Linked DNA regions of Homo sapiens: regions 1, 3 and 4 are each linked to region 2. Evidence: promoter capture Hi-C in 16 types of primary human blood cells and fetal thymus (Javierre and others, 2016). All regions are on one chromosome and are shown on one strand. The core of a region is centred on a gene start or on the middle of the fragment in contact, and the rest is flanking DNA. Distances in the headings are between cores, read along the strand shown.

Region 1 (6,563 bases), core at 3,836-6,335, 1.5 Mb after region 2:
TTCAACTAAATAAATTTGAGGAGCTGTGACAGTGACTAATTTTTTTTTCTTTTTTTTTGAGACGGAGTCTCACTTTGTCGCCAGGCTGGAGTGCAGTGAAGCGATCTCAGCTCATTGCAACCTCAGCCTCCCAGGTTCAAGCGATTCTCCTGCCTCAGCCTCCCGAGTAACTGGGATTTTAGACATGCGCCACCACGCCCAGCTAATTTTGTATTTTTAGTAGAGACGGGGTTTCTCCATGTTGGTCAGGCTGGTCTCGAACTCCCAACCTCAGGTGATCCTCCTGCCTTAGCCTCCCAAAGTGCTGGGATTACAGACGTAAGCCACCACACCCGGCCAACAGTGATTGGTTTTTAGCCACACTTGGAGCAGTGGCTAAAATGGAATTGTGTGAGGCTGGTAAATAAACACATGAAAGCAAACTCAATTTTTGTGACAAATCTTTTTTTAATGTTAAAAGTACTAGAGAACATCTATTCTAGCAGTATGACAATGACCTCACAAGGGAAACCTTAAAAAGTACTGGTGCCTGGGTCCCAACCCACAGATTCCAACCTAGTTGGTCTGCTACCTGGCCTGAGGGTTTCTAAAGGCTCTCCAAATGATTCATAATATGTAACTACGATTGAATCACTACAGCAAATTACTGTTGCTGTGGTGATTTTTAACCAGGAATGTTCATCAGAATTGCCTGGGCAGCTTTTTACCCGCACCTAGAAATTCTGATTTAGGCCTGAGGAAATGTGTTGGTATTTGCATTTTGAAAAACCCCACAGGTGATCTGATGTACAGCCAAGGTTGAGACCCACCAAATGAACCACCTGGTTTCTCCTGCTCAGTCTGAAGCACCTTGACTATTTATTTGTGTTTTTATTTGCTTATCTGCCGTTCCGTTAGACTGAAAGCTCACAGGGGTAGAAACTATTTTGCTCGCCAACCCTTGGGTCTAGCATACAGCTTGCCACACAAGTGTTCCATAAATACTTCTTAAAGATTCAGACTTATAACTCTAAATTATAAAGGTACTTCTTTAAGCAAAAAATCTCCTGTTCGCTTGAATTTTTGTTTTACCAGTATTTCTGTTTTTCTTCACTCTAATGTAAAACACAACTCCCAAATCTAGTCTATCAGAATTCATCTTAAACTATGATTTAATACATTAAAAACACTGAAATAAGTGTTCCAAGACTTTCAAAATGAGAACTACTAATATCTAAGAACTCTGTAATTTATATGTTTAAGTGATTTTGTTCAAACCAATGGTAGCTTAATAGCTAAGTGACTTTTCTTAAAATGGTACTTTCAATCTACTGGAAATCAGAATGTGCCAATGACATGAGACAGTCCCTGCTGTAACTCCACAGAAAGGCAGGCTCTTACTGGCGGAGGTCATACAGCTCCTTCAGACATGCAAAGCTGGGTGCCGGTTTCTCCTGGTCACACTTTCCCGGGCTCCTTCTCCCTTGGCCAGATGACTTCAGCTCCTCCACTTGGCTCTGGAGGTGATCAATGTTGGTTTGCAGGCATTCAATCGTTTCAGTCAGGCTGTGAGGAACAGACAGAAGCCACTGCTGCTTGTCATATTGAATCAAGGGCAAAAGCGGTGAGGAGAGATTAGGTGCAAACCACTCACACTGGGCTTTCTTAATTGGAAAGGATGTCTATTTAATCTCCATTCTCCAAAAAGAATTAAATTAAACCTTATCCCATATTGACCCAAACCCACTGCAGCCATGTTCTATTCTAGTTTATACTAAAGAACTTCCCCCTAGTCCTTCCTTGTCAGATTCTAGAAAATTTACCTCAGAATCTTTTGCTGTGAGGCCTTGCTGTCAGCAACTAGCTTTTGATTTGTTTCTTCCAGTTCCCTTGCTGTGACGTCTAATTGTTCATAAACCTTTGCATGTTGTTCGTTCATCTGCCGTAGAAGTTCCACTTGCTTCGTCAGATACTGTAAGAGAAGATCAGGACCAGGTGACACAAACAGATAAGATACCTGCTGTTTCTTGGCTGGCTGCGGTGGCTCACGCCTGTAATCCCAGCACTTTGGGAGGCCAAGACGTGTGGATCACCTGAGGTTAGGAATTCGAGACCAGCCTGACCAACATGCTGAAACCCCGTCTCCACTAAAAATACAAAAATTAGCCAGGTGTGGTGGCACACGCCTGTAATCCCAGCTACTTGGGAGGCTGAGGCAGGAAAATTGCTTGAACCTGGAAGACAGAGGTTGCAATGAGCCGAGATGGCGCCATTGCACTCCAGCCTGGGCAACAAGAATGAAACTCCATCTCAAAAAAAAAAAAAAGATACCTGCTGTTCTGCTGTTCCAACACCAATTCTCCGATTGTCAGCACCAACTCTTGTTGGGGTGGGGCTGACATAGAGTCTCCATCTCTGGGCTCACTGGCCTCCCAGCACTGCCCAGAAGCTCCTTTAGACCCATTTCAGTTTTCTCCAGGTCTTCTCTCACATCAGCATGATTGATTCAATTATTGGCCATTGGTGACTGAACTCAAGCTCCAACCCTTCCCTCTATCCAGAGGTTGTGGGGCTGGGACTGATAGATCTAACCCTCTAATCATGTGGTTGCCTTCTCTGGTGACCAGACCTCAACCTATCAGGAAATTCCAAGGGTTTTAGGAGTTCTATGCCAGAAACCAGGGACAAAGACCAAATATATAATTTTTATTATACCACAATACCATATGTTTATTTTAAGAAAAGAAGAAATTAAACTCCCTGTCTTCATAAGAAATGAGCACAGGCTGTCCTTTATATGCTTAGCTCCTCTAATGCTCACCAATACCCCAGTGCATTGTGAGGCTAATTTTCCAAAGCATATACCATGCATAAAATTAATATTCAACTAAAAAATCTAAAGTGAGACATAACAATCCCTTAAGACAAAAAACATGGAACATGTGATCAAAGTTTAAGCAAAAACATCATGTTTAACAGAAATAAAGCCTAACGTGGAGGATTTTTAAAAAAAATTATACTCTAAGTTCTAGGGTACATGTGCACAATGTGCAGGTTTGATACATAGGTATACATGTGACATGTTGGTTTGCTGCACCCATCAACTCATCATTTACATTAGGTATTTCTCCTAATGCTATCCCCACCCCGACAGGCCCCAGTGTGTGATGTTCCCCACCCTGTGCCCAAATGATCTCGTTGTTCAATTCCCACCTATGAGTGAGAACATGCAGTGTTTGGTTTTCTGTCCTTGTGATAGTTTGCTGAGAATGATGGTTTCCGGCTTCATCCATGTCCCTGCAAAGGACATGAACTCATCCTTTTTTATGGCTGCATAGTATTCCATGGTGTACATGTGCCACATTTTCTTAATCCAGTCTATCAACTGATGGACATTTGGGTTGGTTCCAAGTCTTTGCTATTGTGAATAGTGCCGCAATAAACATACGTGTGCATGCGTCTTTATAGCAGCATGATTTATGATACTTTGGGTACATACCCAGTAATGGGACTGCTGGGTCAAATGGTAATTCTAGTTCTAGATCCTTGAGGAATTGACACCCTGTCTTCCACAATGGTTGAACTAATTTACACTCCCACCAACAGTGTAAAACGTTCCTATTTCTATGTGGAGGATCTTAATTTGGAAAAAAAAATCAATCTCTTTCTCTGAATGAGGCATTCTGGACCAAAAAAAATGAAAAGTATGTTGCTTTGACGAGAAATATATTTTAGCTTAATATGCTTCAAAGACTCCTGTTATTTTTAATTTTATGAGAGTTTTATCACCATTATCCTCCTTATTCACGAGAAATTTATCAGATGATTTATTCTGGTCCTGCTAAGACTGCTTCCTAAATGGCCAAGGATAAAGGGGAATAATCCCAACCTTAATGCCGCAGTGTAAGTCACCTTGATTCCCTCCCTGCTCAGCTCTACCTGAAGACACTAAAACACAGTATATATTCCAAAGGAAAAAGTCACAGTATTTCCCTGGACAGAACCAGAAAGAGGGGAGAAATGGTTTGAAGCTTACTGATGATCAAACTGTAAAAGACTCAGAACTTGACTTTAAAAACACTCTTCTTGGCCAGGCATGGTGGCTCACACCTGTAATCCCAACACTTTGGGAGGCCAAAACAGGCAGATTGCTTAAGGCAGGCCAGGAGTTCAAGACCAGCCTGGCCAACATGACAAAAACCCACCTCTAATAAAAATACAAAAATTAGTCCGGCGTGGTGGCACGCGCCTGTAATCCCACGTACTCAGGAGGCTGAGGCATGAGAATCTTTTGAACGTGGGAGGTGAACGTTGCAGTGAACCGAGATCGTGCCACTGCACTACAGCCTGGGTGACAGAGACTGTCTCAAACACAACACAACACACTCTTCTTGAGGCTTTTTCTACAACTCTAGAAGGATTTGCAAGGCTAACAAACAATGGGCTAAATGACACTCAACGGGCCCTTAAAGTGTTGAAAAAAGCATATATGGCTTTTTTTTTTTCAAATCCATTTACATAACTCAGCAGCAAAGAGTTGAACAAACACTTAACCTAACTTCAACTTTCTCATCTGAAACTCTTGAAGTCAAAAGTGTTTTGGAAAATTCTTTAAATTTTAGAAAGACAACATGGCGCTCATACCTGACACACAGCTGACACCTTATAATACCTGTGAGGTCTGGGCAGCACCCTGTAATCAAGCATTAATATTTCTGCATCAAAAAGTATGAACTAAGACTATAAACAGCCTCACATCAGTTCAGGTAAAGATCTACTACCAAATGAATCTGTTGCAAATTTAAGGGGAAAAAAAAAATCTTGCTTTATAGAGCTTTTTGAGTTCGGAATTAGTAAGTGGATCTGTTAGTACCTACCATGTAGAACTGGCAGAATTAAATGAGAAAGGTGAGCACATGGCACGGTCTATAAAAGCCTGTGTGTAGTCTTCACTGCCTCAACTCCCACCAGCTTCTTCTGGTCCTTTGGAAATCAACCACTAATTCTCATGCGTGAAGCTTTCTCAGAACTAAAGGAGTAGGCCCTTAATCCTGCCCTCGGGCTAGTAATTCCATAGTAGGTTCTTGTCATTGATGGGAACATGTTCAATCTCTTAGGAATTGATGAGATTCCACAGGAGCGGAAAAAAGGCTTAGAATCACAAGAATATATATATAATAGCTGCAGAAATGTTTCAAGCTTCTTTATATCAAGTATAAATTATCAAGTATTCTTTAGGACTCAGAACTACCTTTAAAAAGGCTAATGCATAAGCCAGACATTAATTTATTAATATACAACAGGAACTGTTCCTGCCCAGTGACAAGAATATTCACATCCTCTATTAGGACACAGCTGCCCCACAAAGGGCATGTGAAAGGCCGATTCATGAATGAGAGTCTCTGGTAGACATGGGATCAGAGGAGTCTGATGGGAGGCAGTGGTATAGTAGCTAAGAGCACAGGCTTTGGAGTCAGAACCTGGTTTGAGGTCTTGCTTTGCTGTTTAGAACTGGGTAACCTACAGCAAGCACATTTTTCTAATGTGAGTTCTCCTCATCAACTACTTCATAAGGCTGTAAAGATAAATATGTGTGTGGGAGAGACTGGACTATGTCACCCCAAAGCATGCGTCTTTGGCATAAAAAGGTTCCTGCCTCCTCCCTCTCTACCAGGGAGAACAAAGGTTAACCACTAACAACTTTAGACCTTTATGGGCCAGAAGACAGCACCAGAGGAATCCACACTAACAAGCTTTGCTAACGGGCCTTTATCACCACTTACTTGCCTTCCCACAAGTTCTGCCCCTAGACAAAGTTCTTCCCCTTTGTCTTGTCACTTCTCTAAAAAATTACCATTCTTTGTTGAAGATACTACATAAGCTGGAATTCAAAGCCACCTCTGAGAATGACTCATCCCCTGGGTATCTCCCACACATATAAATGAAATAGATATGTTAGTAAGCTTGTTTTTCTCTTGTTAATCTGTCTTTTGTTGCAGGGGTCCTTTCCAACTAAGCACTCATGAAGGTTGAGGAAAAAAATATTTTTCCTCCCTGACATATACAAATATATAATTTACAAAAACGTTAATATATGTAGAGAGCTCAGCATGAGATCTGGCAGATGGTAAATTGCTCAATAAGGAGAAGCTACTGTCATCTTTATTTAAAGCTACAGTTTTCAAACTTTACATGTGCTAAGATTCACCTGGAAGAAGATTTATTAAAGTGTAAGAACCTGGGTCCCTTCCCCTCAAACGGCTGAGACTGGAGTAGAGCCAGGATTCTGCATTTTTAGCAACAAACCCAGGTGATATTAGTACAGGCAGTCCAGAGATCACACTTAGAGAAATGTTGATCTTGGACATGGAAAATCCTGGACGTCCCCTGCCCTGACCAATGTCCTTTTCTCTTGGGTCTAGGAGACACAGGCATTCACTGGATCAATGATGACTCTTCAGCTTAATGCTCACCGTCTCCCTGCATAGGGCTCAGCTTAGATGCAGTTATCCACTAAGATTAGGTTATATTTTAACTGTACCACAGCAGCATTCATCATCATAACGCTTCACTTTGGTATGTTC
Region 2 (6,160 bases), core at 599-3,098:
CAATGGCAAACTAGGTTCTAAATCAGTTAAAGTGAGAACAGTAGTCATTCTTCTGTTGTATTTTTGTGAAACATCTAAACACGCTGTTACTGGTATAATCAAGCATTAAATATTCTGTTTTTTAGGGCCCGAAAGCCCTGAATAGGACTTCCTAGCATCAGATCTTCCTAGCACTATGCATATCAAGCTCAGTTACAGAAGGACAGGACTTACGGGCACTTTCTAATCAAAGGACTCCGAAAATGTAGGCACTATCTCTTAAAGTTCTTCAGAAAACAGTTTCAGATTCTACAAAAGATTTCCGAAGAATGTATCAACACCAAAAGGAAAATCATAACACTTCACTCTGATATCTGTCTGAGAGGCTAGAAGAGTGCTCCTTGATTTTTTTTAAACCAACAGCATATCAACAAAGAGGCCTTCTTTCCATTCTTTGCTTCAAATAATTTTTTCACATCCGTTATTGGTTTGTATTCGCCCTTAAACCAAAACTAAACAGATCACACTGTCTCATTTAGGACCCCCATACACAAAGAATCAGCTACGTAAAGATGAAAATCAGCACAAGCTGAACGTGTCACTGATGATTTGTGTGTCACACATAAATGGAGAAAAACATAAAAGAGCTATTGTCCAATTGTAGAAACAAAAAAGTAATATGGGGTTTTCTGTTCTCTGAAGTGCATCATGAAAAGTGGGTGGAGAGAAACACAGAAATCCAGAATTAGCCTAGCAAATCATTTTGGGAAGAGCTGACAACATGTAAATTCCTCACACATAAAGTATTTCGAGCAAGAGACCTTGATTCCTGGGCTATGATGCCATTCAGGATTCCTTGCAAAGGCTCTGGAATTCCAGTATTCATAAAAGAAAATGCTCATTATAATCGGAGCGTAAGAGGTACTCCCAACGTGACAGCCTGTATGAAGTATTACAAAGCTTACAGTTAAGATCTGGGATAGAGGCTGAACACCAAATTCAAAAGAGGTAACCAAGGCACTAAGTGCCATAAAGGAGGAAAGGGGAAGAAAAAAAAATCCACTATTGCCACTCAGCCACAGAGAATTAAAGTGGAAACCAGGGGTGTGCATGGGGGAGGATGAGGGGTGAGAAGTGCGGGGGGTGTGGTGGAGGAACAAACAATACATTTGTCACCCCGTCCCACTTCCTATAGAGGATACAGGCAAAGCCTCCAGCCTCATTACCTCGGACACAGATGGTTATCGTTTATAGCAAAGGTGCACAAAAAGGCCTTCAGGTCTGAGCCCCTTAATTCCAGGGCTGTTAATGATTAAAGAGAACGATGGGGGTGGGGAGGGAAATGAGGGCGGAGGGAGCTGGGAGATTCACCCACCACCTCCCCCTAGGGCTCCTACCTCACAGCGCTCACCCAGGACAGAGGACCAGAGTCTGCACCCCCTCCAGGGCAGCTCCAACCCCATATCCCCAGGCCCTGGGTTGAGGGGTGCTGGCGGTGGGGAGGCAGGGACAGTAGGTAAGTTTTCTGAGCCCTGCGGCTGACACGCCACAGGCTCCCCTCACAGCCTCTTCTTTCAGAGGTACCACTCCAGACAACGCGCTGACTTCCACTCCTCCCTTTCCACCCCCCTTTCTCGAAGGTACCCAACCCCCGCCCCTTCATCTCTCAATGCCCCCCCGCCTTTTCCTCAACTCCCCCCCTCCCCAAAACTCACAGCTGCTCCAGAGGTTCCTCCAGTCAAACCCTTTCTGGAAACGACGGCGGCCCGGCGGGTCCAAACCACCTACCATCCCCGCTCGCGTTTCCAGGCTCCCTACCCCCGCCGCCGCCGCCTCTTCTTCCACCACTGCCACCGCCTCCTCTTCATCTGCGGCCCACCGGCGGCGGCCGCCCCGAAGCCCCGCCCCCTCCATCGCCTCCTGCATCATCACTTCCGGTAACCCCGCCGGCCGCCAGCTCCAGGAGGGAGAATGGGAGAGGGGCAAGGAGGGAACGAGTGGAAGATTGCGTCACGACGCACATAAAGACGTACGAAGCCGTCGCCAAGTAAGGGCAAAGACCTAGCAACCCGGAGGGAGCTGGGCTGGACCATTTTTTTTTCTTGTTTTACGGGAATGGAGCGGGGAGGATAATGAAAGCGTAAAGGAAAAATAGGGGGAGGAGGAGCTCAGCTTATTGTTGGATGCGGCGGGAGATGGGTAGAGTCAGTCAGTCGAGACTCCCCCAGACCTGGAACTGGTGCTCCCACAGAGGTGGGCCCGGTGGTTTGGTCCGGCCTGGCCTACTGGACCAGCCTGTGCTCGGTCGGCCACGGCTCTGCTGGGCTCCTGGCGCCGCCTCCTCCCAGCCCGCCGCGGGCTGCGCGCTTCTGTGGGTGGGGGAAGGCAGGACTGACGCAGAGTGAGTGTAGGGGATGGAGGCGCCGACTCCAGGCGCGGGAGACTGGCGGGGAAGGGGTTGGCTCCCCACGGGCAGGGATGGTTTGGAGGTTGGGCTGCGGCGTTGCCGGGAGACGGGCCTGTGTGACCCCAGCTTCGCGGGGGCGGCTCGGTGTCATCGCCACCGGCCTCGGGGACCTGCCTCACGGAAGTGGCTCGCGCGTCCAAGAGGGGAGGCCTGGTGTGGGGACGCTCAGGTGCCGGCGTGGGGCCCCCTCGGAGGCTGTGAATCTTTTGGACCCCCGAATGTAAATGGGAGATGGTAGGGGCCGGTCCGGGGGCGAGAGGTGTCTGGCTGGGGAACGTTGACCCACACCAGGTCCCGTACAGGAACGGAGACTCCCTAGGACCGTGAGAGCCAGCTTCGTAATTCTCTTGCTCTTCAAACCTGAGAGTAGGGTGTTGCTCCGTTACCTTCCATTCGTGTGCAGGAGAGAGTTAAGTAAATCAATAAAGAAGGTATCAGCAAGTGAGAAATGCCCCCCAAAGACCGGATGAGGTGACAGAAGATGGGGGGAGGGCCCCTCGAAATCGGGTAAGGTCGTTCAAAGGAGGCCACGGTTTTGCGGGGATCCGAGACAATGGGTTTTCTGGGTGGAGAGAAGAGCCAATGAGAAGGACTTTTAGGTTGGAAACAGCCAGAAGGCCATGTGGCTGAAGCAAACAGAGCCAGGGCCGGAGTGCCCTGTGATGTAGTTGGGGAAGTGGCATGACTGTAGCAGCGCCTTTTAGCCCAAGGCAGGGGTTTGGCTAATGTGTACCTTAAGGGTTTTAAGAAGGGAAGTGACCTGACCTGATTTACATTTTTAAAAATCCGCTCTGCCTGCTGGATAGAGAAGGGTGGAAGTAGTTAGACCTGTTAGGAGACTGTTGCACTGTAAGACAAAGGAGAGGTGAAGATAGTGTTGAAAGGGCCGGCCGGGCGCGGTGGCTCACGCCTATAAACCCAGTACTTTGGGAGGCCTAGGCGGGCGGATCACGAGGTCAGGAGATCGAGATCATCCTGGCCAACATGGTGAAACCCCATCTCTACTAAAAATACAAAAATCAGCTGGGCGTAGTGGCACGCGCCTGTAATCTCTGCTACTCAGGAGAATCGCTTGAACCCGGGAGGTGGAGGTTGCAGTGAGCCAAGATCGCGCCACTTCACTCCAGCCTGGGCAACGGAGTGAGACTCCGTCTTAAGAAAAAAGAAAAGGCCCTCAGTCACAGTGGAAATGGAGAGAATTCCATTCAGCATATATTTGGGAGGTAGTGCTTGCAGGACTTGCTGGGGAATTGGATGTGAAGTGTGTAGGAGAGGGAGGAACCAAGGTTAACTCCCTACGGGAAAACAGTTTAGAAAGGAATATCGAAAGTTCTCTTTTGAACATATTAAGTTTGATAAGTCTATTAACAAGTCAAATGAAGTTGTCAAGAAGTTAGATATACAAGTCGGGGAAAAATCATAGTTGGAGATAATAAATAAGGAAGGCAGGGAGGAGCTCCCAGATCACCTAAGAAGAGCGTGTAAATAAAAGAGGAAGACCCCTAAATCCCTTGGGTTCTTACCATTTAGAGAGTACCCAGAGAAGGAGAAGCCAGCAAAGGAGACGACACAGACAAGACCTCAGAGATCAAAGGAAGAGGCCCCTTAATATCCTGGAATAATGGGACCCATCCCCGTAATCAGTGAATCTCATCCACCCGCTTGCCAGCTTCTACCCGCAGCAAGTAGAAGCTAAGTCCTGGCTCAAATCTCTTCCCTCCCTCCCTCTCCCAGCTGTCAGTGCTTTTGGACTTGTGCTCAGGTAATTTGTGTCCGTTATAGAAAACCTGACTTTTTGGATAAATTGTCTGTTTATATGGCTGTCTCCCCCAGGTACTGTTTCTTATTTGTGTCTTCCTGGCTCCTGGTACAGAGCCTTGTCCATATGGTGGTTGTAGCTGGGCAGGAACACTGTGTTCATAAGGTATCAGCCATACAATCCAACAGCTTCTCACAAAAAGGGGCTTTTGTCCCTGCCACTGCTGCCAAGCCCACCACAATTACGATCAGTTCCACAATATAGTGTAAAGGGTATCAGAAGATGAATAAGAAGGCCTGGGTTTCAATCCTGGATCTGCCACTGACCAGCAGAGTGGCCATGGATAAAGCTCTTCTCTCTGAGCTGAAGGGTTGGCCTAGATTTGAAGTTGCATACTGACAAGACAGATATTGCCTGCAAACATATTGTTCAGCCCACACAGTGATTTAAATTCTTTTTTAAATTTACTTGCCAACATTTAAAAATTGGACATCAAAATCCAGACTTTGGGCTTCATTTGAAAAATCCGACAATCTGACAACACCAGCCTGAAGTTCCTAGAGGTTCCTACACAGCAACTGTCAGCCAGAGCTGAAGAGCTGTCTCCCGTCTATGTGGCTCATGCTCAGGGTTTGCCAAAAAGGCCTCTCCTCTCCTGCTACCTGGCTGACCCCTGTGGGCATTTGATTTGCAATTCTTGGTCTAGGGCTGTGCTATCCCTGTGTAGCCACTGACCACATGTGACTATTTAAATAAAAATTCAGTTCCTCCAACACAGTATGTTTCAAGTGCCAGTAGCTACCTGTGACAGGTGTGTGTCCTATTGGACAGAGCAGATAGAACCTTTCCTTCACAGAAAGTTATCTTGGTCAGCATTGGACTGGAGGAACTCGAGGGTACTATGTAGGCTAGTCATTCTCCGCATGTGAAACTCAAGGGACTTAGCCTACTGAGGAGCTCTGGTGCCTCTGCAGATGGGAAAGTTGCGCATTCAGTAGTTATTTGATGGTGGAGGAAGCTGTCCTGAAGGCCTGGACCCCTGCACAGAATGTGGTTATTTATCAGAGAGTTGGATCAAGGGTCAGGTGCTAGAAAGCCCCAACTGTATCTAGTGTGGCATGCAAAGCTCTTTGGTCAGTTTCCTAATCCAGTTCCTCAGAAAACTATAACAAAGCAAGAACTTAAGTCAGTGTCTTGTGTTCTCAGACTTTTCGATTTGATATGAAGGGTGAAAGATCCTGGCTGGGGAGTTATGAATGAATGAATGAATGAATGAATGAATGATCTTTAGCATTGGCCTTCAATTCCAGCCCCCCCACCACATCTCTTCCACTGCCTTCTACTACTAGTAACTGGTGACTGCTTTTTCACCACCTCTGACTGACCCGTACCTTTTCTTTGCCTGTTAAAATATGCTAATAAGGAAACATACTTCCATTTCTTTTGAATTGAGGGGCCCATAACTTTTCATTTAGAACTTCTATCCCTGATGGGAAAAATAGCTGTATATCTATTGGTTGTTATCTTGGTTACAGTAGCCTGATTGGAGTTCCCCTGTACAAATATAATCTTGTGTGCGCTCCGGTGCTGGTATGATATATTTAGAATGGGTGTGCTTGCCTCCTGTGATCTTGTTTGGGATAGACATTTTAGAAGTCTTTCAGACATTTTTTGTTTTGGCCCCGTGTTCTAAAAACTTCCCATATTACAGGGCCTAAACTAAATTATTTTCCCTTAGGTAAAATAAAAATGCCATCCACCCTCTCCTCCCTGCCCCCTATTGCTGACAGACCATATTCTTATCATTTTCTGTGTAAAAAGATGCTGTTTCATAAAATAGCTGCGGTATGATTAAGTATACCACACAAGCATATCCTGAAATTTGCAAAACAGTGTGTGGCATGTGAGGCATTACACTTCCCTTTTTGGATTCTAGTAACCAAAAACTGAATCTG
Region 3 (6,679 bases), core at 614-3,113, 1.3 Mb after region 2:
TGCTCTACAGCTGGGGGAATTTGGAGGAGCACCGCCTAAGCCGCCACTGGCCTAAACACAACACGTGGTAACTTCTACTCTTCTACACTCTGGCCATGCCAAGGCTTGCGGTTGAACTCTGGTCTCGTTCTCTCAGAGCCGCAAACCTCGGACCATTTGAAGCTGGCGGTCCTGGGGCTTCCTTTCCTCTCGATAACATGTTTACATCCAAACTCACTTCCTTCCTCTCTTTCTTCTCCCTGCTAATCCTGGGAAATCTGTTCTTCGAGCAGGAAAAACAATCTCACACTGCTCACGTTATTTTCTAGATCTTTTGACTAGTGCCAAACCTACTTTTGAAAATCCAAAAGCCAAGAATCAATTTATTTGTTTTCTGGATTTCTCCAACTCATCTATTTCCTAACACTCTGGAAGCAGAATGTGTAAACCCTGGGCATGGGGACAACATGGATCGCTATGTCAAAAAAGCTTTTTTCCTTTCAAGCATCTTTATCCAATGGAAAAGGAGGTGGCATCCCCACCCAACAGGAAAACTGAATCACTGTAAGAATTTTTGAGACTGCCCAGACCACTAGCCTCCATGAGGTTCTGAAAGGGCAAGTAGGAGGTTCTAGCTTACTTGGAGACGCTAAAGAGAAGCATCGCAAATGCAGAAAACAGAATTGTCACAGTGGGCAGCCCAAGGTGACATAGTCGATCTGAAGGGATTATCAAGACAAACTCATAGGCTTTCCATTATGGGTGCTGAAGCTATTCCCAGTTGTAAACCCAATGCCAGGCATCTAAAACATCCTCAAGTCTCTCTCATCTTGAAAATATCTTCCCAGCAGGGCACAGTGGCTCACACCTGTAATCCCAACATTTTGGGAGGCTAAGGCTGGAGGATTGCTTGAGGTCGGGAGTTCAAAACCACCCTGGGCGATTTGGTGAGAACCCTGCTTCTACATAAAAAAAAATTTTTTTTAATTAGCCAGGTGTGGTGGCACCCAGGAGGCTGAGGCAAGAGAATCACTTGAGTCCAGGAGTTTGAGTCTGCAGTAAGCTATGATTGCACCACTACACTCCAGCCTGGGCAACAGGGTGAGACCCCATCTTTAAAATTTAAAAAAATCCTCCTTTGATTCCCCCATTTTCCCTCCCACAACTGTTCCTTTTGCTCCTCCTTTTCAAAATCAAATTTTGTGATGAATTGACCATACTTATGTTTCCATTTCTTCTCCTCAACCCATTCCAAAATGGCTTTCAGATCATCAATGATCTTGTCCATAAATCTTAATAGATATTTTTCCGTCTTTATTTTGCCAATTATCTTAGCTGTGTTCAGCATAGTTGACTGCCCCCTCCTTCTTGATCCGCATTTCTTGGTCTCTATGAAACCACACCTGTTTTCCACGTATATTGCTGGCCAGTCCTTTCCCGTCTCTTTCGCATCTCTTTCACTGGCTTTTCTTCCACTGCCCTCCCTTTAAGATGATGTCTCTCGGGTCTCTGTCTTGGCCCCTCTTCTCCCTCTGTGGGATCTTTCTGGATGAGTTCATCCCTTCCCATGGCCTCAGTCTCTAATACCTCCCAAATCTGTATCATTTCCTTGGAGTGCTCTCTTGACCTCCAGAAATCTATGTCCAACCTCCTACTCAACCCCATATCCCACAAGAATCTCCAGCTCAATGAAAATCAAACTGAAGTCATCATCTCCCACAAACCTGCTTTCCATCTATCTTGTGTTCCCTCCCAGGAGAGGAGAGGCACCACCAGCCATCCAATGACCCAAGCCCAAATCCTGGGCGTCACTTTTGACGTGATCCTCTTCTTCTCGACATGCTCATCTGTGGATTCTGTCAAATCTATCTCTAAAATGTCTCCCTGACTCACTCCTTCTGTCCCGCACCCGGCCACTATTGTGGTACAAACCACTGTCCTTTCTCCTAGACAATTGCAATAGGCATTGAATGGGACCTCCTGTCCCTGCTGCCAGCGGGAACTTTCTTTTCTTTCTTTGTTTCTTTGTTTCTTTCTCTTTTTTTTGACACGGAGTTTCACTCAATCGCCCAGACTGGAGTGCAGTGGTGCGATCTCGGCTCACTGCAACCTCCGCCTCCCAGGTTCAAGCAATTCTCCTGTCTCAGCCTCCCAAATAGCTGGGATTACAGGTGCGTACCACCATGCCCAGCTAAATTTTGTATTTTTGGTAGAGACGGGGTTTCACCGTGTTGGCCAGGCTGGTCTCAAACTCCTAACCTCAGGTGACCCACCCGCCTCAGCCTCCCAAAGTGCTGGAATTACAGGTGTGAGCCACCGTGCCCAACCAGTGAACTTTCTAAATTCCAAATTGGAACATGCCACTCTCTAGCTCAAAAGCCTTCCATGGTTTCCCATTGCCCTTGGGAAGGGACCAAGTTCAAAGCCTTAACTCGGCATTCATGGCCCTCTTTGCCTGTCTCTTCGCCTCACCTATTGCCAATACTCCACCTCCACTCTCTGTGCAGCTGCCCTGAATTACCTTCACAGCGTCTCAGCCTTACCAGGCTCTTTAGGAGTTCCCTCTTGGAAATCCCCTCCCACGCCTTCACTTGGCTAATCTCAATTTCAGGCCCCAGCTAAATGTCACTTCCTTGCTTCTCAGGGGCCAGGTTAGCATGCTGTACTGCCTAACACTCCTCACAGGTGTAATTAATTAAAATGACAATGTCTGCAAAGTCGATGGGTTCAAAAACATGCCTGCCTTGTACACCACCACAGCCTCAGGACGAGCACGGTTTCTGGCACATAGTAGGCCCTTCATAAACAGCTCAACAACTGTTTATAAATGAAGGCCCCTAAATCAAGCCTGAAAACCAAGTAAGAGGTGAATCAATGAAGCAGAGACCTCAAGGTTGGCACCCCCACATAGGGCCAGACCCCTACTACTCCAGGGTCACCTGACAACAGAGGTTTATGGGGTCCCTGGAGCCCTCTAAAGTACACGGAGCAGGCCAGAAAGGGACCCCCGTCCCTAACTCAGGTCATGATTACAACCACCCCCAACTAACCCCAGGAAGACCCAGACAGGCTGTTGGGAACTTTTCAAGCTAGCTCAGATGCTTTCCCCTGGAAATGGGGAGATGTGTTTTGTTTTTTTGTTTTGTTTTGAGGGAGCTGGATGGGTAGGTGAAAGAGAGGTTTGTGTATTGGGCTAGACAGTGAAAGAGCCTGCACTGCAGTTTCTGCCTTTTCTCTTCCCTTCCCCCTTCCATTAAAAAAAATCCATTATAAGCAATCTAAAGCTTTAAAAAAGAAATACATCAGAAAGGAGAAAAAAGGAAGAGAAGTTGGCAAAGGACTACATAAAGAGATGGTTTATGGATAGAAAAGTGAGACCTTCTGAGGTGTGGCAGCGGTGGGATTCGAACCCACGCCATCGAAATGACTGGAGCCTAAATCCAGCGCCTTAGACCACTCGGCCACGCTACCTCCCGATCGTAGGGCTTCCTATGCCGGCATATTAGTGTGATGACGGAGGCGCCCCGCCCTCAAAGTTTGCGCATGCTCAATATAGAACCGCTGTCTCCTGCGTTGCTCACGGAGACTTGGAGTCACAGTGCTCTCGCGATCAGCAGCAGTAAACACACTAGGAACGCACTATTAAAATGAAGAGTGCCTACATATCAAAAATTAATATTTTTAATATTAAATCCTCACAAGTGTGTTTGGATTTGATTTTGAGTTTTCCTTGGGCGTGATCCTGCCTACAGCCACGTAGGGGCGCTCCCGTGCTGCCGCTTCCTCCCGGGTGGGCCGGGATCTTGCGTGGAGCCCCAGTTTGTATGTTGGGTCCCCAAGGTGCAGACGCTCTGTCCAGTTCAAGGCCCCTCTGTAGCCCTGAGTGGCCTCATGTCCTAGCCCTTGCCCTCGCGATGTAAGAATCAAGAGTTCAGGGAGGAAAACCATTGAACGTTGTTGCAGATTCTTTGCATGTGTGGGCTCCTAACATATCAAAAACTATTAAGCTTTCATAAGCTGTGCGACCCATTTTACAGAGGAGGAAAATAGAGATGCTAAGTAACTAGCCTCGGGTGCCCCAGCCAGCCGGCATTCCACAGCCTCCCAAGACGTTTGTTCGTACGTGCAGAGGATTTTAGTGCTTTTAGAAAAAAAAAAAAAAAGCAATAAATATAGAGTATAACCTAGCAAAATTCCATTTCCTATCATCTCGAATTATTACTAACATTTTGCATATTCGCTTCAATTTTTTTTTTTTTTTTTTTCCTGAGACTGAGTTTCGCTCCTGTTGCCCAGGCTGGAGTGCAATGGCGCGATCTCGGCTCACTGCAACCTCCATCTTCCAGGTTCAAGCGATTCTCCTGTCTCAGCCTCCCAAGTAGCTGGGATTACAGTCGCATGCCACCAACGCCCGGCTAATTTTTGCATTTTTAGTAGAGACGGGGTTTCATCATATTGGTCAGGCTGGTCTCGAACTCCTGACCTCAGGTGATCCGCCCGCCTCGGCCTCCCAAAGGGCTGGGATTACAGACGTGAGCCACCGCGCCTGGCCTGAAATTGTTTAAATTAAAATTAAAATTAACACTCTAGATAAAATTCAAGTCTCCTTTGATGTCCCCAAGTTCTATTCCCCCTTCCTTCTCTTTCAGGAGTTTCCCATCTTTTCAGTATGCATTTTCCTAATTTCACAATCACATAGGGTTGTCTATTTCCTTGCACGTTTAAGGAAAATGGCAAACAAAAATCCAAGGTTGTAGAGACAGTTGGGTAAGTGGGAGTGGCAGTCTGTATAATGACCCCTAAAGATGCCCACACTTGAACGTGTAAATATGTTACCTTCCGTGGCAAAAGGGACTTTTGCAGTTGTGATTAAATTAAGGATCTTCTGATGGGGAGAGGAGCCTGGATTATCCAGGTGGTCCCAATATAATCACAAAAGTCCTTATAAGAAAGAAACAGGTAGCCAGGCGCGATGGCTCATGCCTGTAATCCCAGCACTTTGGGAGGTTGAGGTGGGCAAATTGCTGGAGGTCAGGAGTTCGAGGCCAGCCTGGCCAACGTGGTGAAATGTCATCTCTACTAAAAATACAAAAAATTAGCCAGGCATGGTGGCATGTGCCTGTAATCCCAGCTATTCGGGAGGCTGAGGCAGGAGAAGCACCTGAACCCAGGAGGCGGAGGTTGCAGTGAGCTGAGATCGCGCAACCGCACTCCAGCCTGAGCGACAGAGCGAGATTCCATCTCAGAAAAGAAAAAGAAAGAGGCAGGAATTCAAGGAGGTATGAGGGTGAAAACAGAGGTCCCAGTGATGTAGCCACAAGCTACAGAATGTCGGCAGTCTCTAGAGGCTGGAAAAGGTAAGGAAATTGATTCACCCCTAGAGGCACCAAAAAGGGAACACAAGGTGTCTGACACCTTGATGTTAGCGTTTCCGACTTCCAGAACAGTACCACTATAAATCTGTGTTGCTTTAAGCCACTAAATTTGTGTTAATTTGTTACAGCAGCAATAAGAAACTAATCAAGTGGGTAAACCCATGGGCTTGGGAATGACACAGTCTAAACTCCCATGAGCTGTGTGATCTTGGAAAAGTCACTTCTCTCTGGGCCTCAGTTGCTCATCCCTGTAATGGAGTGATAATGATAGTATCTACCCCACAGGATTTGCTGTGAGGATTAAACTCATTCATTCTGCAAATGTTTCATGAGCACCTACAATGTGTCAGGCACTGCTCCGGTTATATCAGAGGATAAAGTCAATACAGATTAAATGTGGTAATTTGGCCAGGTATGGTGGCTCACGCCAGTAATCCCATCCCTTTGGGAGGTTGAGGTGGGAGGATTGCTTGAGGCCAGGAGTTTGAGGCTACAGTGAGCTATGATCATACCACTGCACTCTAGCCTGGGTGACAGAGAGAGATCTTGTGTCTAAACATGTGCCAAGCATTTAGATGAATCTCTGGCACATATGAGAAGGGTGACGGTGATGACTTTGTTCTCTCCTGGTATCTCAAGGGTTCCCACCACAAGGGTTCTTTTTGGTTTTTGTTTTCTTCTGTTTTGTTTTGTTTTGTTTTAAGACAGAGTTTCGTTCTTGTCGCCCAGGCTGGAGTGCAATGGCATGATCTTGGCTTACTGCAACCTCCGCCTCCCAGGTTCAAGCAATTCTCATGCCTCAGCCTCCCGAGTAGCTGGGATGACAGGCACCCGTCACCAAGCCCAGCTAATTGTTTTTGTTTTTTTGTATTTTCAGTAGAGACGGGGTTTTGCCATGTTGGCCAGGCTGGTCTCAAACTCCTTGACCTCAGGTGACCCACCGGCCTCAGCCTCCCAAAGTGCTGGGATTACAGGAGTGAGCCACCGTGGCCCAGCCACCACAAGGGTTCTTATACAGGCACTGGCCACTTGGTGGTATTCCACACACATCTCTCCAAACACCCTGTTTCAAGTAGGGGGTCTCTCCCAGGATGATACTGGGCCCTGCTAGGAGGTCAACTCCAGGAAGGCAGGTGATGGTGTCTTGTTCATCCACTGCTGTATCCTCAGGACCTAGAACACTGTTGGCAGCAGGAATATTCCTTGAAAAAAAATAGTTTTGCATTCTTGGTTAAGTCCACTCCATCTTGCCACATGAACTTAAGAGTCAGAGACAGATGCTTTCAGCTGGAGCTGCCCAATATAAGGGCTCAGAGAACTTTTGT
Region 4 (6,525 bases), core at 2,888-5,387, 1.4 Mb after region 2:
AGAGAGAATTTGATTGGTCCAACCTGAATCCTACGTCCACTGAAGAACGGTAGAACCCACTAGCCATGGCTGTGGGGGTGGGGCGTGCAGCACAAAGGTGGCTGCCAGGGACCCACTCTCTGGCTGGTCAGGCAGTTCCTAGAAAAATCAGACTGGGCAAAGATGCCAGCAATTATCCTTGACTGTGAGGATATTTCCTTTTGGAAAATCCAGTACCCAACTCACAAACAAAGTCCTTCCTGGTACTAAAATACCATGACAAACACTCCTATTGACTTAAAGGGGTTATTCCTCATTCAGCTTTGAACTCCCCACAATGCCTACCCTTTGTCTTCAATCCATGGCTGCTTCTGTATTTTTTTTTAATGTCTTGAAGAGCAACAAACTTTTCTAGCACAAGAAAATCTTTGCATATCATTACATATGTTAAAGGTAGATGGATGGCCAGGTGTGGTGGCTCACTCCTGTAATTCTAGCACTTTGGGAGGCTGAGGTGGGAGGATAGCTTGAGATCAGCCTAAGCAGCAAAGCAAGACCCCGTCTCTACAAAAATACAAAAGTTAGCCCAGTGTGGTGGCGCGTGGCTCTAGTCCCAGCTACTTGGGAGGCTGAGATGGGAGGATCATTTGAGCCCAGGATGTCAAGGCTGCAGTGAGCTGTGATCATACCACTGTACTCCAGCCTGGGCAACAAAGCAAGACCCCGTCTCTCTAAAAAAAAAAAAAAAAAAGGTGGTGGATGGAGGGGGAGAAAAGCCAGGCTAAGGAGGGATTGAAGAGGAAAGACATAAAATGCCCAAATGTTAGGGGTGTGTACCAACTGGATATTAGCCAGAAACTTGAATCATGGCCCTGAAAAGTCTAATACCAGTCAATGCAAAATGAGAATTCTACTTATAAAAGTGTGATTTATATAGTTTTTGATGTGTCTAAAGCATCACCAGCGTTCGTAGAGTTCCTGCCTAATTCCCCCATTCAGTCACCTTAAGCATTGACTCCACTCCCTGTGTTGAACAGAACTAATGGAGAAAGTAATCCACGTAAATGACAGAGGGAAAGAGAAACGATAGAGAATGATAGAGGACAAAACCTTAGATATGAGGGATATTTGAGATTTCTTACGCCAATAAATGTGAAAAATCAAGTAATGGGGCTTTGTTTTCCCAGAAAACGACAACTTGCCAAAGTTGACTCAGGAAGAAATAGAAAAAAAAAAAAAGTCATCAAAAGTCATATAATTTGGCAAAATGGAAAAATATATGCATATCTATATCTATATAGAGAGGGTCTCACTCTCTCACCCAGGCTGGAGTGCAGCACCTGAATCTCGGCTCACTGCAGACTTGACCTCCCTGGCTCAAAGGATCTTCCCACCTCGGCCTCCCAAGTAGCTGAGACTACAGGCACATGCCACCATGCCCGGCTAATTTCTTTTCTTTTGTTTTTTGGTAGAGACAAGGTTTCTCGATGTTGCTTAGGCTGGTCTTGAACTCCTGGCGTCAAGCAATCCTGCCACCTCAGTCTCCCAAAGTGCTAGGATTATAGGAGTGAGCCACTGAGACCAGCCTATTATTAATATTATTATTATATAATACTAGGGAAAGTATAAATATAGACCAGCAATTTCATTTCTAGTGTATACCCTAGAGAAATGTCCATACGTAAGACAAGGAGCCATGTGCAAGGATACTTCCTGCCATATTGTGTGTAATGACAAAAATTTAGTAACAACTTAAAAGTTGTACATGGCATGGAATGAATGAATTAGATCTATAGGCATCATAACAGACCTCAAAAACATAATGTTGGGCCTGGCACAGTCTCTCATGCCTGTAATCTTGGCTACTTGGGAAGCTGAGGTGGGAGGATGGCTTGAGCCCGGGAGGTCTAGGCTACAGTAAGCTATGATTGCACCACTGTACTCTAGCCTGGGTGACAGAGCAACACTCTCTTAAAATAATAATAATAATAATACTGTTGAAATGAGAAAAGCAAGTTTTAGGATATCAGTACAATGTGCTAACATTTATATAAGTGAAAAACATACAGATAACCATTTTAGATATTATTCATAAATTTTATAGTAAAAATGTAAGAAATTATTGGAAAGATACACATCAAATTCATGACAGTTATAGACAGGGGAGAATGGGAGGGGGACTTATTTCTATTTGCAATGGTCTAATAATTTCTATTTGTAATAGTGTGATCTATTTTTTATTTATTTATTTATTTATTTATTTATTTATTTATTTATTTATTTGAGACCGAGTTTCTCACTGTCGCCCAGGCTAGAGTGCAGTGGTGGGATCTCGGCTCGCTGCAACCTCCGCCTCCCGGGTTCAAGCAACTCTCCCGCCTCAGCCTCCCGAGTAGCTGGGATTACAGGCATGTGCCACCACGCCAGGCTAATTTTTGTATTTTTAGTAGAGACGCTTGAACCCAGGAGGCAGAGATTGCAGTGAGCGGAGATCGCACCACTGCACTCCAGCCTAGACAGCAAGAGCGAGACTCCACATCAAAAAAAAAAAAAAAAAAAAAAAAAAAAAAGAAAAGAAAAAAGAAAAGGAAAAAAATGCCACAATACTAAGTCATTAATTTAATGCCAGGTGGTGGCACTATGGATGATAATTTTTTTCTTTGTAATTTTTGTGCATTTTTGTTTTTAATATCTTTGCATATCCACACGGATAGGTATTTTAAAATACAGTCTGGTGAAAAATAACAGCCAATTGCAGATCTATATGAATAATGTGACAATATTTGTGTTCAAATCCATACACAATAAAAACAAAGCTATCTTCTATGGCTATATCTATATATATCCATATAGATATAAACATATAAATTCACAGCAAAAGATCTAGAAAGATATATAGTGTTTTAGTCCATTTTCTGTTGCTTATAACAGAATACCTGAAACTGGGTAATTTGTAAAGAAAAGGAAGTTATTTCTTACAGTTATGGAGTCTGAGAAGTCCAAGGTCAAGAGTGTGCATCTGGTGAGGGCCTTCTTGCTGGTGGGGGACACCTGCAGAGTTCCCAGGCAGTACAAGCCATCATATGGAGGGGGTGCTGAGCTGCTCCCTTGCTAGCTAAGGTCTCTCTCCCTCTTCTTATAAAGCCATCAGTCCCCCTCCCAAGATAACCCATTAATCCATTAACCCATTAATCCATGAATCCATGAAGAGATTAATCCATTCATAAGGGCTCCACCCTCATGATCTAATCACCTCTTAAAGGGCCCACCACACAATACTGCCACATTGGGGATTAAATTTCCAACACATGAAATTTGGGGGACACATTCAAACCATAGTTCATATTAAACAGATAATAATGGTTAGTTACCTCGGCGGAGGGGCCTAGGATGCGAGTCAAGGTCAAAGAGCATTTGTACCTTATCTGCAAAGTTTAAATATTTTGCAATAATTCGCGTGTTATTTGTGTAAGTAAAAATTTAAACATAATTTTTCAGAGACAACTGCCCAGACCAGCTCCAGGGTTTGGCCGTCAGATCCCCTGGTGCATGTTTCTGATCAGATCAATTTCTTCTCCCGGAGACACCCAATCCGGGTCGTATGGATTACCTGTGGGTTAACCAGGGGTCTCCGGGTTAACCATCCAACTCAGAGTAAAGTTTCTAAAAATGCGTTTTGCTCTAATACCTATTCGGAACCAACCTGGGTCTAAAGACTGGAGCAAGTGTTTATTTTCCAAAACACGGCTTTTTAAAATAATTCTATAGGGATCACCTTGAACACACGTTAAGCAAAAAAAAAACCTCAGCGAAAACGCCTCGCAATGTCCAGATTAAATGCAAAAGCAAAAGCATTAAGTAGCTTTCTGGCATAAACATATTGCAGCTGGGTAGCGTGGCCGAGCGGTCTAAGGCGCTGGATTAAGGCTCCAGTCTCTTCGGGGGCGTGGGTTCGAATCCCACCGCTGCCAGGGTTGCTGTCTTTTTGTCCCCGCTGCATACACTCCTGGCTCAGTTTTGCGCGTGCCATCAGCGCCCCCTGCTGCAGGGCGGGGCTCACGGCCTGCATGAATGGCGCGGCGGAGGGGGCGGAGCCGCGTGCACCGGGGCGGGGCATTGTGGGTAAGAGGAAACGCTGGGGCCGGCCCGCTCCCCCCCACGTGTCCGCCGGAGTTTCTCCACCAGCAACATGGCCGCCGCCTGAGAGGAGAGCCGGGCCGCCGCCGTCTCTGCAGCCCGCGGGTAACTGGGCCGTTGCCGCCGTCCGCGCTCGGCCCCCGCGGAGAGGTGAGTCCCGTCTTGGCAGTGCCCGAGCTGGGGCTTGAGCCGGACCGCACTCACGACGTGGGCCTGGGCTAGATTCCCGAGTAGGCCAAGGAGGCCCGCGCCGCGCTGTGCCTAGCAGCTGGAGGCCTCTCGGGACTCGGGCGGGGAGGAGGGGCAGCCGGCTCCAGGCCGACCCCGGACTCTGACTTCCTTGACCTGACACCTGGGAGTTGGGGAGGCCGCGGCCGACGCTGGCGGCGGTGACTCAGGGTCCAGCCGACCTGCCCTATCCGGGCCTGGGAGGCCTCCTACGGAAGAAACACCTGTCCGCGCGTCGGGTGTAGTGGCGGCTCGCGGCAGGGACTGCGTGGTGGGCGTGAGAAGGGGGGCCTGACCACCCGCGAGGGAGCAGAAACCCATTGGACAGCGAGGCTCGGGATCGGCGGCCCGCCCCGATGGGCAGGGAGGGCACCTGCGCCTGCCGGAGCCCCCACTTCGCAGCTGAACCGGATTAGCCTCTGCCCGGCGAGGCCAGGGATTCCTCATTCATTTATTCAGGCAACCATTCAGTGTTTACCGAGCCAACTCTGTGTTCCGGATACAGCCCTGACCATTCGGTCCGAGGAGGTGTCAGTAAACAAACAAGGTCGTTCCTTTGGGTTAGCTTTAGAATTCCTTGGGCTTGGAGGCGGAAAGAAGAGATCTTAGCGATCTCCACAGTTTCCTCATCTGTGAAATAGAGATAATAGAAATTCCTACCTCATAGGGTTGTGGTGACGGCTCAGTAGAAACCGGGTGACGCTCCTGCTTGCAGCGTTTGACTTGTGGCTTAGCGTCATTACCCGCTTACGTTGGCAGAAAACATGTTGTCAAGTAATAACAAACCTTCCCAGAGGTTACGTTTATTAGCGTCCTGTCCTTACTCCTTCCCCGCAGGGGTCTGGAGGTCGGTACTTAGTTTCCCTACTTTAGGGATGAAAATAGGGAGGAATACCAAACCCAGACAACTCAGGTGGGTCACAGATGCCAAGCAGCTGTGGTGGGATTTGAACCTGCACAGTTTTGTTCTCGGGTCCAAGCTCTTACCCACTTAACCATACTGCCGTTTATCAGAAAACCGTGCAGTATAGTGGTTAAGAATAAGAATAAGGATCTTTGACATAGCGAGACCCAAGTTTCTGTCCTCATTCCACCTTGGATGAGTTGCTTATATCTGAACCTCAGTCTCGTCATTTCCAAATTGAAGATGATAAATCTCTATTGATAGGGCTAATGAGAAGATTAAATATAAAGTATTCTTTGTACTATATTGAGTGTCAACTTCGTGCCAGGCACTGTTCTAGGTATTGAGAGAACCAGCACTGGATTTTTTTTTTAAAGTAATGCTCCCCATAACAGCTTTGATGAAGTAAAGTATGATTGTCTGCATTTCATAGTTGAGGAAACTGAAGCACTGAGAAGCCTTCATGGAGCTTACGTTCTATTGCAGAAGACAAACAACACCTGAGCAAATAGACCAGGTAGTTCCAGATTAAGATGAGACCCACCAAGGAAAGAAAACAGAGATGTGGTAGGGCCTGGGAGGAGGCTGGGGGAGGCTTTTAAAATAGGGTGGTCAGGGAACCTATCCTCTCCTGCAGGCGGTGATGATATTTAATAAAAAGGAGCAACCTTGGAAATCCCTGTGGGAGAATAGATGATGTGCAAAGGACCTGGGGTGGACTGGGGCTTGCCTTGTTGGAGGCCCAGCAAGTGGCTACCAGCCTGGATGGTGAGGGGAAGACAGAGACAAGATTATGTAGGGCCTTAGGTGGCTCATGGAAAGGAGTTTGGGTTTTATTTTATGTGACAGTGGCAGTTGACAGGTCTTAGGCAGGGAAATAATATGATTTACTTTTTTTTTTTTTTTTTTTTTGAGATGGAGTCTTGTTCCGTTGCCCAGACTAGAGTGCAGTGGCAAGATCTCGGCTCACTGCAACCTCTGCCTTCTGGGTTCAAGTGATTCTTCTGCCTCAGCCTCCCGAGTAGCTGGGATTACAGGCGTGCATCACCACGCCTGGCTAATTTTTGTATTTTAAGTAGAGACGGGGTTTCACCTTATTGGCCAGGCTTTTCTGGAACTCCTGACCTCAGGTGATCCGCCTGCCTCGGCCTCCCAAAGTGCTGGGATTACAGGTGTGAGCCACCGTGCCTGGCTTTGTTTTCCCCCCAGTAGAGATCGAGTCTCACACTGTGACCCAGGATGGAGCGCAGTGGTGTGATCATAGCTCACTGCAGCCT

The links. Contacts are between HindIII fragments. The CHiCAGO score rates a contact against its expected background, and 5 or more counts as called.
Region 1: a fragment that was not itself captured here is called in contact with the fragment with the promoter of DCUN1D3 in region 2 in 1 of 17 cell types (erythroblasts); the score reaches 5.6 in erythroblasts.
Region 3: a fragment that was not itself captured here is called in contact with the fragment with the promoter of DCUN1D3 in region 2 in 1 of 17 cell types (total B cells); the score reaches 5.8 in total B cells.
Region 4: the fragment with the promoter of POLR3E here is called in contact with the fragment with the promoter of DCUN1D3 in region 2 in 1 of 17 cell types (erythroblasts); the score reaches 5.5 in erythroblasts.

The regions. Positions count from the first base shown.
Region 1 is chr16:22,347,899-22,354,461 of GRCh38, forward strand. CDR2 (cerebellar degeneration related protein 2) reads right to left here. Exons shown (of 5, transcript NM_001802.2): 3 at 1,803-1,951; 4 at 1,381-1,545. Among named protein-coding and RNA genes, the nearest start is that of CDR2, 23 kb to the right of the region's middle. The HindIII fragment of the contact is 181 bases long and covers 4,996-5,176 here.
Region 2 is chr16:20,898,510-20,904,669 of GRCh38, forward strand. DCUN1D3 (defective in cullin neddylation 1 domain containing 3) reads right to left here and starts at 1,849. Exons shown (of 3, transcript NM_173475.4): 1 at 1,695-1,849. It overlaps LYRM1 (LYR motif containing 1), which reads left to right and starts at 2,262. Exons shown (of 4, transcript NM_001128302.3): 1 at 2,262-2,380. RefSeq lists enhancers at 1,409-1,458, 1,668-2,453, 2,454-3,239. The HindIII fragment of the contact is 5,697 bases long and covers 938-6,160 here.
Region 3 is chr16:22,192,343-22,199,021 of GRCh38, forward strand. It overlaps TRL-TAG3-1 (tRNA-Leu (anticodon TAG) 3-1), which reads right to left and starts at 3,450; the gene lies at 3,369-3,450. RefSeq lists an enhancer at 2,956-3,085 and a silencer at 3,836-3,915. The HindIII fragment of the contact is 2,795 bases long and covers 467-3,261 here.
Region 4 is chr16:22,293,272-22,299,796 of GRCh38, forward strand. It overlaps POLR3E (RNA polymerase III subunit E), which reads left to right and starts at 4,138. Exons shown (of 21, transcript NM_018119.4): 1 at 4,138-4,266. TRL-AAG2-4 (tRNA-Leu (anticodon AAG) 2-4) reads left to right here and starts at 3,869; the gene lies at 3,869-3,950. RefSeq lists silencers at 3,759-4,208, 5,219-5,358 and enhancers at 3,882-4,426, 4,869-5,008. The HindIII fragment of the contact is 19,375 bases long and covers 1-6,525 here.